4 separate regions of the Homo sapiens genome follow, and all the other regions are linked to region 4. Evidence: promoter capture Hi-C in human tissues and cell types (Jung and others, 2019). All regions are on one chromosome and are shown on one strand. Each heading gives the region's core, a stretch centred on a gene start or on the middle of the fragment in contact. The rest is flanking DNA. Distances are from core to core; before and after follow the strand shown.

Region 1 (2,700 bases), core at 10-2,509, 550 kb before region 4:
TGATGACATTCAGAGCAATTTGGGTGAAACTGTCTATCTAGATTTGTATGGTTTTCCCTTCTTGCCCGGTCTTTTACAGTTATCCTGCCCACATCTAATTTGAGCCTAAGTTTTCAGTGTCTTGACTTATTTTTCACAAAGCATTCACATTAGTTATTTTCAAGGAAATTTTCTAATTTATTTCATTGATGTGTGTATATATATATATATATATATATATATAACATTTAATTATATAATTATAAGAACTTACGACTTCTATAAACTGGCAGGTGAATAAACACAAGTGATTTTTGGTAAGCATACAACTCAGCTACTGGGAGAAGAAAGGGCTTGGGGGCAAATAGGAGAGAGTTGTTTACTAGTTTTAGGTGGTTTAAGACTGTTAAAAGCGTCCCTTTATTAGACTTGGGAACTGGAGAACATTAGTTAATTTAACAAGTTAATTGATTAAAAGAGGCTTATACTTTAATCAACCACAGGGAAGACTTACTTTTGTTTCATCAATTTTGTATCTCCTTAGTGGTTACTTGACTAAATTTTGTTCTATTGTTTTAGAGTCAACTCGGTTTGGGGGATGGGTAGGGAAGAGGATTAGAACAGATACACACAAACTAGAGATAATTTGTTTTGCTTCATTGGGGTGGCCTAACCAAGTAAGGGATGTTCAGCAGTGGGATACTTGCAAAACTAAGTGTTGAAAGCTTTCATTATTTCATCATTAAAAATTATTTAAGCTGTAGTGTACTATTTTGTTTATTAATTGATGAATACAAATGTATATATTTGTGGTACACAAAAAACCCAACTAATATCTGCTAACTGCTTTACAGTTTACAAAACCCTCCTGTGTATATCCACTTTTGATCTTCACAATAGTTCAGCTAGGTGGCTTGGGCTTTATTATCCCAATTTTATAGATAAAAGAATACCAAAGCACAGAGACTGTCAAATGAATCTCCCAGTCTTAGTTATATAGGTAGTAAGTAAAGAATTGGACTTGAACCCCGATTTTCAGCCTCCATGTCTTGTATTTCCCTTTTGTATTTGTCTGTCAGTGTCTCTCTGAATATAAGTGTTCTTTTGCTGGTGTGACAAGATAAGATATTCTGGAATCTTTGGAGAATGTGGGAGCATGAAGTCTTCATATGACTTGAAAGTTCTTGAGTAACTTATTTCTGTCAAGTTTTCTATCTTGTTTGTTAAAATAACTTATGATCTAAATTTTATCTTTTCATATTTTAAATACAAAGAAAAATGTCATGTTGTCAATTTTTTTGAGACTCTGTTGCCCAGGCTGGAATGAAGTGGCGCAATCTTGGCTCACTGCAACATTTGCCTCCCGGGTTCAAGTGATTCTTCTGCCTCAGCCTCCTGAGTAGCTGGGATTACAGACATGCGACACTAAGCCTGGCTAATTTTTGTATTTTTAGTAGAGACAGTGTTTTGCCATGTTGGCCAGGCTGATCTCAAACTTCTGACCTCAGGTGATCTGCTCACCTCAGCCTCCCAAAGTGCTGGAATTACAGATGTGAACCACCACGCGGGGCCCATTCTTTGATGTTTAAAATGCTTGTCAATGACTTCTCAAAACTATATTTTTTTCTTCAATTTTCTAAAATTCTGTTGAAAGACACAATGTCCCATTGATTAGCAGAAACAAGTGGGAACATCAAAGGAGATGCTTAAGTTGACAAATATAACATAGACAATTATAGATTTAAATTCAGAGTGGCAGCCTTACTTTTAATAAGAGGGTAAATTTAAAATGACCTAAGGGTTTCTTTTCTTAACAAGTATTTTCTTTCCTCAAGATTTTTTTTTTCTTTTTTCTAACCAGTTTTTTCATGGGTAGAAAATGAACTTTATTTTAGTCAAATTTTTGCAATGAACTTTCAAGGCTTTTTTTTTATTGGGAGCTGTGGACAACAGCAAATATATCTTCTGTAGTGCTCATTTGGCTTGATTGAAGAAATGATGACTACTTTTCTTCCCTCGGGGATAGTTGGTGGAATGGAGGACATGGTAAGTGTGTTCAGGTTCTAGCTTAGTGCTTTTGAGCTTAAAAAAAGACTGACCCCAAGGAGGCAGTTGCTTTTATGTCATGACCCAGTATACACACATACATATATGTTGACTATAACTTAGAATTAGTCTTACCAAATGCTGCCTATCTTAACCATGTTCTAAGTACTGTGATATTTTCTGTCCCCTTCAAAAAATTGTCGATTGTGACTAACGATTGACCAAAATTGATTTCTGCTGGATTTTTCCTGGACCCACTAATGGATTGCAACCTGTTTGAAAAACATTGTTCTAATACTTACATTCCTTAAAAATGCAACCTTAAAGAAACCTCATGCCTTTATTTTTTTGAGATGGAGTCTCACTTTGTCACCTAGGCTGGAGTGCAGTGGCATGATCTCTGCTCATTGCAACCTCCACCTCCCAGGCTCAAGTGGTCCTCCTACCTCAGCCTCCTGAGTAGCTGGGACCGCAGGTGTGCACCTCCATGCCCAGCTAGTTTTTGTATTTTTGGTAGAGATGGGGTTTCACCATGTTGCCCAGGTTGGTCTTGAACTCCTGAGTTCATGCGTTCCACCCGCCTCAACCTCCCAAAGTGCTGGGATTACAGCCGTAAGCTTCCATGCCGGGACACAAGAAACCCCATACCTTTTAGCAGTCACTCCCCTACTTTCC
Region 2 (2,700 bases), core at 75-2,574, 580 kb before region 4:
GCCACCAGTGGAGTCTCAGTACCATCTCATCTCTGTGGGCTCTTCTTGCCCTTCTCCCAGCTATCTTGAGTATTTAATTGTACTTGCAGAAAACTAAGCTTTACACAATATATATATATATATAGTTTTCTCTATCTGTTTCTGCAAAATGCCTTTTACTTAATGGAGACTATTATCTAAGAGGGCTAGAAGATGAAGAACTAAAGGATTTGAGTAATTGAGTTGATACAGGAATCAAAGTATAACGAGATATGACAGGCAGCTCTTTTATGAATTCTTAATAGTTGACCATTTGTTTAAAAAAATGTAATTCCTGGTTTTTAAAACTTGGCATCAAGAAAAAAAATCCTCGGTAGGTTTGAAGTTGTTTGAAGTCTTTTAGATTGGTTCCAAGCAAGAATTAACGTGGTAATTATCAGAAGATCACTGAATTGGTAAGTAATGAGCATTATCTTCTTTCTGACCAGGGAATTAATACAATAAAAGGAAGTTCAGGGACTTGCTCTGAGGACACTAGTAGTAGGTGGCAGAGAGTCTAGGTCAGAGAGTTGGCAGTTGTAGCCAGTAGGGCATTGGAAGCAACAGCAGCAGGAGGAAATAGAAAAGTCCAGTTTTACCCAGATCTTAATGGACTTAGGGATAGGCAGGATTGTGAACTCAAAGCATATAATAAAAATTGTTACAATAATAGTTTTTCTCTATGGGGTAGGTATACTTTCAGGTGCTTTGTATACCTTGTGCCTAAACTTAACATCCTTGCAAGGTGTAGACATGATCACATATATTTTATAGACCAGAAAATAAAATTGAGGCCCAGAAAGGTGAGTAACTTGTCCTAAGTTGTTCCTCTAATAAACACCAGAGCTGGTTTAACATCATGTTCAATAGCAATGTGAGTGAAGAGACTGTTATAAAACTCAATTGAAATAATGTCTATCAATTAAAATAAAATTTATTATTTTGTCTATAATGACTTTTTTTGGGGTAGAATTGTTAATTTAAATTTAGACTGTGATAGTCAACTCAGCCTGTCTTAAAGGGACTTTTTTGAATGTTGCAGAATGATCCTTTGAAATGTATTTCTTTTATACTCTGAGGCTAATTAAGAGGTATCTTTTGTTTTTTTAAATGCCAAAGCTTGTGAAGTCTTCAGTTTAGTGAAACACCAGTTTAAATTGAAATATCACAACACAAACTGATTTGTTGGTGGTTATCAATTGGCATATTTAGTCATAATGAGTATTCACATAATTGTGTCTGTTAGTCTGTTATTCCATTCAGATCCAGATGTAGATAATTATCAATGATTGCACAGAGTGAATCATGTATTTAGACAGATTTCTAAGTTACGGTTGGAAGAACTACAAATGAGAGGACTTGGGTTCCAGGCCTGTTTTTGTGACCTTGGACATGTCACTTGAAACTCAAGGGAATGAACCTGAGTTTCCATTATCAATCAAAAGAGAATAATGTTATCTATCTAACAGAATTGTTATGAGTAGGAGGATGTGCTTGACACCAATTTCTGCTTCTTAGACTAGCTCTGTAACCTTGAGAAAGACATTTAAAACCTTGTGGTACATTGGTTTTCTTATCTGTAAGGTCAGTCTGTGCTATGTGAATATGGTTGCAAGGTAAGGAGGGTGCAAGTAAAGTAGCTGAATTAGAATTAGATGATCCCTATGGGTCCCCTCATAATCTGTGGTCCTGTACTAGTCAGAACTGCCTGTGTGTTGGTATGTGGTGAAGTGTTACATACAACTAAGATACTGTTTCTTCTTATTATTATTGTTAACAGGGCCACCCCATTAAGGAACAGGCACTGTGTAAGATATTGCATGTATTACCTCAATCCTTGTAACAATCCTATGAGGTAGGTAGTATTCTCATTTAAAGATGGAAGAATTTGAGGCTGAGAGATGAATTAGCTTTCCACAGCCATAGAGCTAGTTGGTTACCAGAGACGTAGATCAGTGTGATTCTAATAACTGTACTTTCCCCCATACCTCACTACACATGCTACTGTGACAGGCCAAAACTAGGACATGGGCTTATTATGCCACAAACTGCCTGTACCAAAGAATGTAATGACGACTGAGTAGTTATGTTCTTCACCACCAAACACTTAACAGTTAAAGAAGGGGAGAAAGACAGTTTCACTTCAGTGTTCCTGCTGAAGTAGTAAAAATTATTACTATTACTAATTCTCCATCCTCGGTTATGAATCTTTTAAATAATCTCTTTGGCAAAATGGGTAATACAAATAAAGCACTTCTGCTGCATACTAAGTATGACAGTTATCTAAAGGAAAACTGCTTCTGTGATTGAGTTGCCAGCTGAACTTTTTTCATGGGATGCCATTTTTATTTGAAAGAACAACTGATAGACTATGGTATTCGGACGTTTTATTAAAAATGAATGAGGTGGCCAGGCGCAGTGGCTCACACCTGTAATCCCAGCACTTTGGGAGGCTGAGGCGGGGGATCATGAGGTCAGGAGATCGAGACCATCCTGGCCAACATGGTGAAACCCCGTCTCTACTAAAAATACAAAAATTAGCCGGGTGTGCTGGCATGTGCCTGTAGTCCCAGCTACCTGGGAGGCTGAGGTGGGAAAATTGCTTGAACCCAGGAGGTGGAGGTTGCTGTGAGCTGAGATTGTACCATTGCACTCCAGGCTGGGCAACAGAGCAGGACCCTG
Region 3 (2,729 bases), core at 93-2,592, 520 kb before region 4:
CAAAAAGTAAAATAAGAAAATTAGCTGAGAGTAGGTAGTGAAGAGTGAATGAGGGAGGTTTGAGGAGAAGCAAGAAATAGTCATTTTGGGGAGTAGGAAAGCTTTCAAGGGCAGCTTTGGTGGATTGCTTGGCATCGTTGAGTGTCCATTTGAGGTTTGTGATCATGAATATATAGTGAAGTCAGTCAGCTTGGTTATGTGATTTTTCTTCAGCAACATTCAGCTGATTGGGCATAGGCACTAGAAAAGGCAGACAATTGGATTTAACCAGGATTGGAGTTGTGTCAGGTGGCAGTGATGGAGAGGACAAATGATTGAGGGTATTTGCAAGGGAGAGATTGTAATTATGGAACACGGCATCAAAATTGGACAAAGAGGGTGCAGAACCGGAGTGGGTAGATAATGGAAAAGTGGTTGGGATGGGAGGACTTCATGACGTCAAAAATTGTAGGGAGGGGATACCAGAGAAAGCTAGTTAGAAGTAAGGGAAGTTCTTTGAGAGTATAATTGAAACGTAATAAGGAAAGATGGGTCTTTTAAGATGATGCAGCTTTTCTTCTCTTTTTTTTTTGAGACAGAGTCTCACTCTGTCGCCCAGGCTGGAGTGCAGTGGTGCATTCTCAGCTGACTGCAACCTCTGCCTCTAGGGTTCAAGCGATTCTCCTGCCTCAGCCTCCTGAGTAGCTGAGACTACAGATGCACCACCACACCTGGCTAATTTTTGTATTTTCAGCAGAGATGGGGTTTCACCATGTTGGCCAGGCTGGTCTTGAACTCCTGAACTCAAGTGATCCGCCTGCCTCAGCCTCCCAAATTGCTGGGATTATAGGTGTGAGTCACCGCGCCCAGCCAAGATAATGCAGTCTTCTGTTTTAGGGGTGGTAGCTCTGGGTTTCCTAATAACTGGGAGTAAGAGCTCTAACAAATCACTTAATTGCCTTTCCCAAGAGGCTAGCTTTGAGATGGACCGCTTTCTCCATGTATATATACATCTAGAGCTTAGTTTAGACATCATAGAAGGTAACCACCATTCACAGAAGTTTCTGGGTCTATTCTCTGAATGACATCAGTAGTAGCAGTGTTTTGGCCAGTGCACAAGTACAGTATGTGTACACCAACTCCCAAACCCTATCTCTGTCGTTTGTTGTTGTTTTTTACTTTTTTCTTGAGATGAGAGTTTTACTATGTTGCCCAGGCTGGTCTCAAACTCCTGAGCTCAAGCAAACCCTCCTGCCTCAGCCTCCTGAGAAGCTAGGATTACAGGCTCACATCACCACACCTGGCTTCATTTGTTATTTAAAGTCTTGGTAATGGGCAGAGGTAGAGTGCAGGGTTATTTATATCCAGGGTAAGTTTTTCAGTGATTTTTTTTCCAGTCTTGATTCAGTTTTGTCAGTGAATAGGTATGATTTAGTGGAAATGATCTTGGAGTCTTAAAAACGAACGTTGAACTTTTGGCTCTTTATTCACTAGCTGTGAGACCATGAGTATATTATGTAACCACTTTGGGCCTCAATTTCCTTTGATCTGTGAAAAAGATAACAGGGCCTGTCTTACAGAGATATTGTGAAGATGCAATGAGATAATGCATGCAAAGTTGTGGCACATAATATGCTCTGAGTAAATAGTAGCGGTTGGTGGTGTTACATTGAAACCAGCAAGTGGGAGAGGAATGTTCACTGTTTTGTCTTCCAGGGTGGTTTACATCCCCTAACTGGAAAGTGGCAGCCATATCTACGCCTTCTCCCATGAGTCGCTACTGCTGCATGTGGCCAGTGCCTCTGTCTAGACCAGCTTCTCAGATTTCGGTGTGCCTGAGAGTTACCTGGGGCTTTTGTTATCATATGATTTTGATTTTGTAAGTCTAGGGTGGGGCCTGAGATTCTTCAAATCTAAGGAGTTTCCAGTTGATGCTCATTCTGCTGTTGCTGGTCCATGTGTCACATTTGAGTAGCAGAATTCTGTTAGAGATTGCCCTGTGGGAATCCCTGCTATTTTAAGCTGAGAGGAAGTGAGGGAAAAAGAGCCTCATTCTTTCGACTTTTTTTTTTTTTTTTAAGTCAGCTTCATAGACAATACTCATACATCTCATTTCTCTACCTCAGTGTTGTTTTGGTGAGTCTGTATTGTCTCTACCAGTCCAGGAAGTGATAGGAATATAAACTATGTATAGAGGGTTGCCTCAGATTTCTTCTGAAGAATTTTTAGTGCCTGATTTCTCAGGTACATTTTTGAGAAATTGTGCTGGCTCCCCCGGTATACCTACTTCCCCCCGCTATCCTCTTACAACCACAGAGAAACTCGTATAAAACAAGTAGCCTGCCAGCCTGGCCAACATGGTGAAACCTTGTCTCTACTAAAAATACAAAAATAGCTGGGTGTGGTGGCAGGCGCCTGTAATCCCAGCCACTTGGGAGGTTGAGACAGGAGAATCACTTGAACCCGGGAGGCGGAGGTTGCAGTGAGCCGAGATCATGCCACTGCACTCCAACCTGGGCCACAGAGTGAGACTCCATCTCAAAAACAAACAAAACAAGTAGCCTCTTGAATTATTGGAGTCAGAGGCAGAGCATCTAAAATGTGGCTCCAGACCCTTTCTGCCCACCAGACTCACATTGCAAAATCCAGCATTTTTGAGATGTAGGAATTCAGGAAGCAAGGTTAGAATTATTGGCAATACCCATATTGCTGTCCCAGATTATCTGATTTTTCTTTCTCAGAAGCAAGCA
Region 4 (2,700 bases), core at 110-2,609:
GCTTGAACCCAGGAGGCAGAGGTTGCAGTGAGCCGAGATCGCGCCACTGCACTCCAGCCTGGGCAACAGAGCAACACTCCATCTCAAAAAAAGAAAAGCAAAAAAGCAAAAAAACAAAAAAACAAAAAACAAAAAACAAATTCAGGCTGGGCATGGTGGCTCTCGCAGCTTTGTAAACACTCTTCAGTCATTAAAACACTAAATAATACAGTCCCCCAAACCAAGGGGGAAATCCTGGTACAGGTAGTTCGCAGTGGAGAGGAGGAGGAGGTACAGCATAACCCAGGAAGAAGCAGCAGCCCCATGAACCGGCATCTCCAAGTTTGTAATTGCTTTGATTGGCTTTTAGACCCAATATTTAATTCAGTTATTTTGTTAAAGTTCCAGATGCAAATCTCATGACCCCCTATCATGTTATGCTCATCATGAAGGCGTCAGGGTTAAAAAGCCTGAGAAAGTCTGCTTTAGTCAAAGAAAAAGTCTTTCTGGGAGTATTTCTGTCATGGGTCCGTATCCCTGCCTCCCCACAGAATTGTCATTTTTCCCTTTTCTCCTGCCCTGCTTCCCTGTTCTACAACACAGCTGGTCAAAGTCTCAGGAGAAATGGCACATGTCTGTAAGTCCCAGCTACTCTGGAGGCTGAGGTGGGAGGATGCTTAAGCCCAGGAGTTAAAAAAAAAAATACTAACAAATTATTGAAAGAAGGGAATGAGTGAGACCTGGAGGTGGGCAGACCAAGGTTCAAGGCCCAGTTCTGACACCAGCTAACTGAGCACTCTTGGGCATGTCGCCTCCCTGAACTGGGCTATCTGTGAGACATGGAACACCGCAGCCAGGGTGATGTCTGGCTCAGGTCCTCCGTAGCTAGTGAGGGACAGATGCCACCAAGAGAACCAAGCATGCTCCCCCAGGCTGGCAGAGCCCCAGAGATCTAGATTCAGCAGAGAGCAACTCCAAACACACCTCGAAAGTAGGATTAAAAAAAAAATTGGCTACCTCAAAGACTGGATACTCTAGGGACACTCCCATCTTGGTCACCAACCGCATACCAGGGTGCCAGGCATGTAAATTACCGTTCCTCCCTCCAACTACCCTACGGGCACAGGCAGGATCAGAACCCCGCACCTCCTGACTCCAGAGCCCAAGTTTCTGGCTCCTGGGCTCTGTCGCTGTGTGGCAGTGTCCCGGGGTGGGGCTAGGACGCAAGCAGGGTTGGGAGAGAAAGGCGCCCGTCCCGCGTCCCGCGCCCCGCGCTTGCCTGTCGGGTTGCGGACGCTCCATCCGGCCGGTGCTGGGCTCGTTCGTGCTGGCTCCGCGGGCGGCGGCTGCGCTGAGGACGCTCGAGAGGAGGCAGGCGTTGACTGCCGGAGCCGCGGCCGGTCACATTTATGCTCGGCGGGTCACGTGGGCCAGGCGGAACAGCTGATGCCCACTTTCTGGCCGGGCGTTGCAACACCCGCAGGGGCCCGCGCCCAGCCCGCCCCGGGCCAGTGTGGGGTGGAGAGGAGCAGTCATATGACCCTTGGGAAACAAAGTCTGGCCATAGGACTTTTAGAGAAAACACACACACACACACACACACACACACATACACACACACACACACACACACACACACACAAAACCTTTAAGGAAATCTGAGAAGCTGCAGGCTCTGGGTGTGATTTTGCTCCTTCCAGAGCCCCCCCTTCTGCTCCCTGTCCCCTTGGGACTTGATGCACCCCAGGCGTCCCAGAAGGTTCCAGAAAGCTGGGAGGCAGCGCTGCTCAGAGCAATAGCCTGGTGGGCAACATCAGGAACTTAGCAACCCCAGGCTCTGCTGTCTCCAGCTCCCTAAAATGTCACCTGCTGGAATCCTCTGCTGACTGCTTGCCTCCTCACACCCTCTTTAAATGTACATTTAGGATCTGTTTTTTGAGTTCCTGTCAAAAAACAGAGACTCTAGTATTTTCATGGTTCATCCCTACAACTGACCTGTGAGGGTAGATCGCTTCTATTTTACAGATGGGGAAACCGAGGCTCAGAGGGGTGCAGTGGTGTCACACATAAAGCAGGATGCCAGTGTCCAAACCCAGGGAGGAGACTAAGTCCCCGCCTGCCTCCTCCACACTCTGGCAGCACCTGGTATCCGCCTGGACTGGGACACCTGTCATACAAACTGCTTCCCTGCTGGAATGCGTGGGACACTCTTCCAGGCACATTCAGGTCTGACTTATACTCAGTGCCTGCTCAGGGCCCAGAGCAGAGCTGGCCCTTGCTGATCGCCTATTGAATCAATTCTGCATGAGGTGGACTCCTTAGAACTCGGGGGAAATAGGGTCACTGGGTGAACCCAGAGGACAAAACGAATGGACCAGATGATTCATACAGTCCTTTCCCAATACTGTGATTCTCATTCTAAGATTTTTTTTTTAAGATGGCTTTCAGGCCTGGCATGGTAGCTCACACCTGTAGTCCCAGTACTTTGGGAGGTTGAGGTGGGAAGAGCGCTTTGAGCCCAGTCGAGGTGGGAAGATTGCTTTGAGTTCGAGACTGGCCTGGGCAACATAGGGAGACCCTGTCTCTACAAAATATAAAATAAATTAGCTGGGCATGGTGGCACATGCCTGTGGTCCCAGCTACTTGGGAGGCTGAGGCTGGAGGTTCACTTGAGCCTGGGATGTAGAGGCTGGAGTGAGCTGTGACCACGCTACTGTATTC

What was found. The method cuts DNA at HindIII sites, captures the fragments that hold promoters and counts their contacts. A contact is called where the count stands out against the background at its distance.
Region 1: a fragment that was not itself captured here is called in contact with the fragment with the promoter of HMOX1 in region 4 in 1 of the 25 tissues and cell types used here (dorsolateral prefrontal cortex).
Region 2: a fragment that was not itself captured here is called in contact with the fragment with the promoter of HMOX1 in region 4 in 2 of the 25 tissues and cell types used here (bladder and heart left ventricle).
Region 3: a contact is called between a fragment that was not itself captured here and the fragment with the promoter of HMOX1 in region 4, in 2 of the 25 tissues and cell types used here (aorta and lymphoblastoid cells).

What each region holds. Positions count from the first base shown.
Region 1 is chr22:35,931,450-35,934,149 of GRCh38, reverse strand. The region is part of intron 2 of RBFOX2 (RNA binding fox-1 homolog 2); the gene reads left to right. Among named protein-coding and RNA genes, the nearest start is that of RBFOX2, 96 kb to the left of the region's middle. The HindIII fragment of the contact is 3,064 bases long and covers 1-2,700 here.
Region 2 is chr22:35,956,384-35,959,083 of GRCh38, reverse strand. All of the region lies in intron 1 of RBFOX2 (RNA binding fox-1 homolog 2), which reads left to right. Among named protein-coding and RNA genes, the nearest start is that of RBFOX2, 71 kb to the left of the region's middle. The HindIII fragment of the contact is 3,101 bases long and covers 1-2,700 here.
Region 3 is chr22:35,899,922-35,902,650 of GRCh38, reverse strand. The region is part of intron 2 of RBFOX2 (RNA binding fox-1 homolog 2); the gene reads left to right. Among named protein-coding and RNA genes, the nearest start is that of RBFOX2, 130 kb to the left of the region's middle. The HindIII fragment of the contact is 4,689 bases long and covers 1-2,729 here.
Region 4 is chr22:35,379,755-35,382,454 of GRCh38, reverse strand. HMOX1 (heme oxygenase 1) reads right to left here and starts at 1,359. Exons shown (of 5, transcript NM_002133.3): 1 at 1,259-1,359. The coding sequence starts at 1,281. RefSeq lists silencers at 1,089-1,258, 1,559-1,638. The HindIII fragment of the contact is 25,740 bases long and covers 1-2,700 here.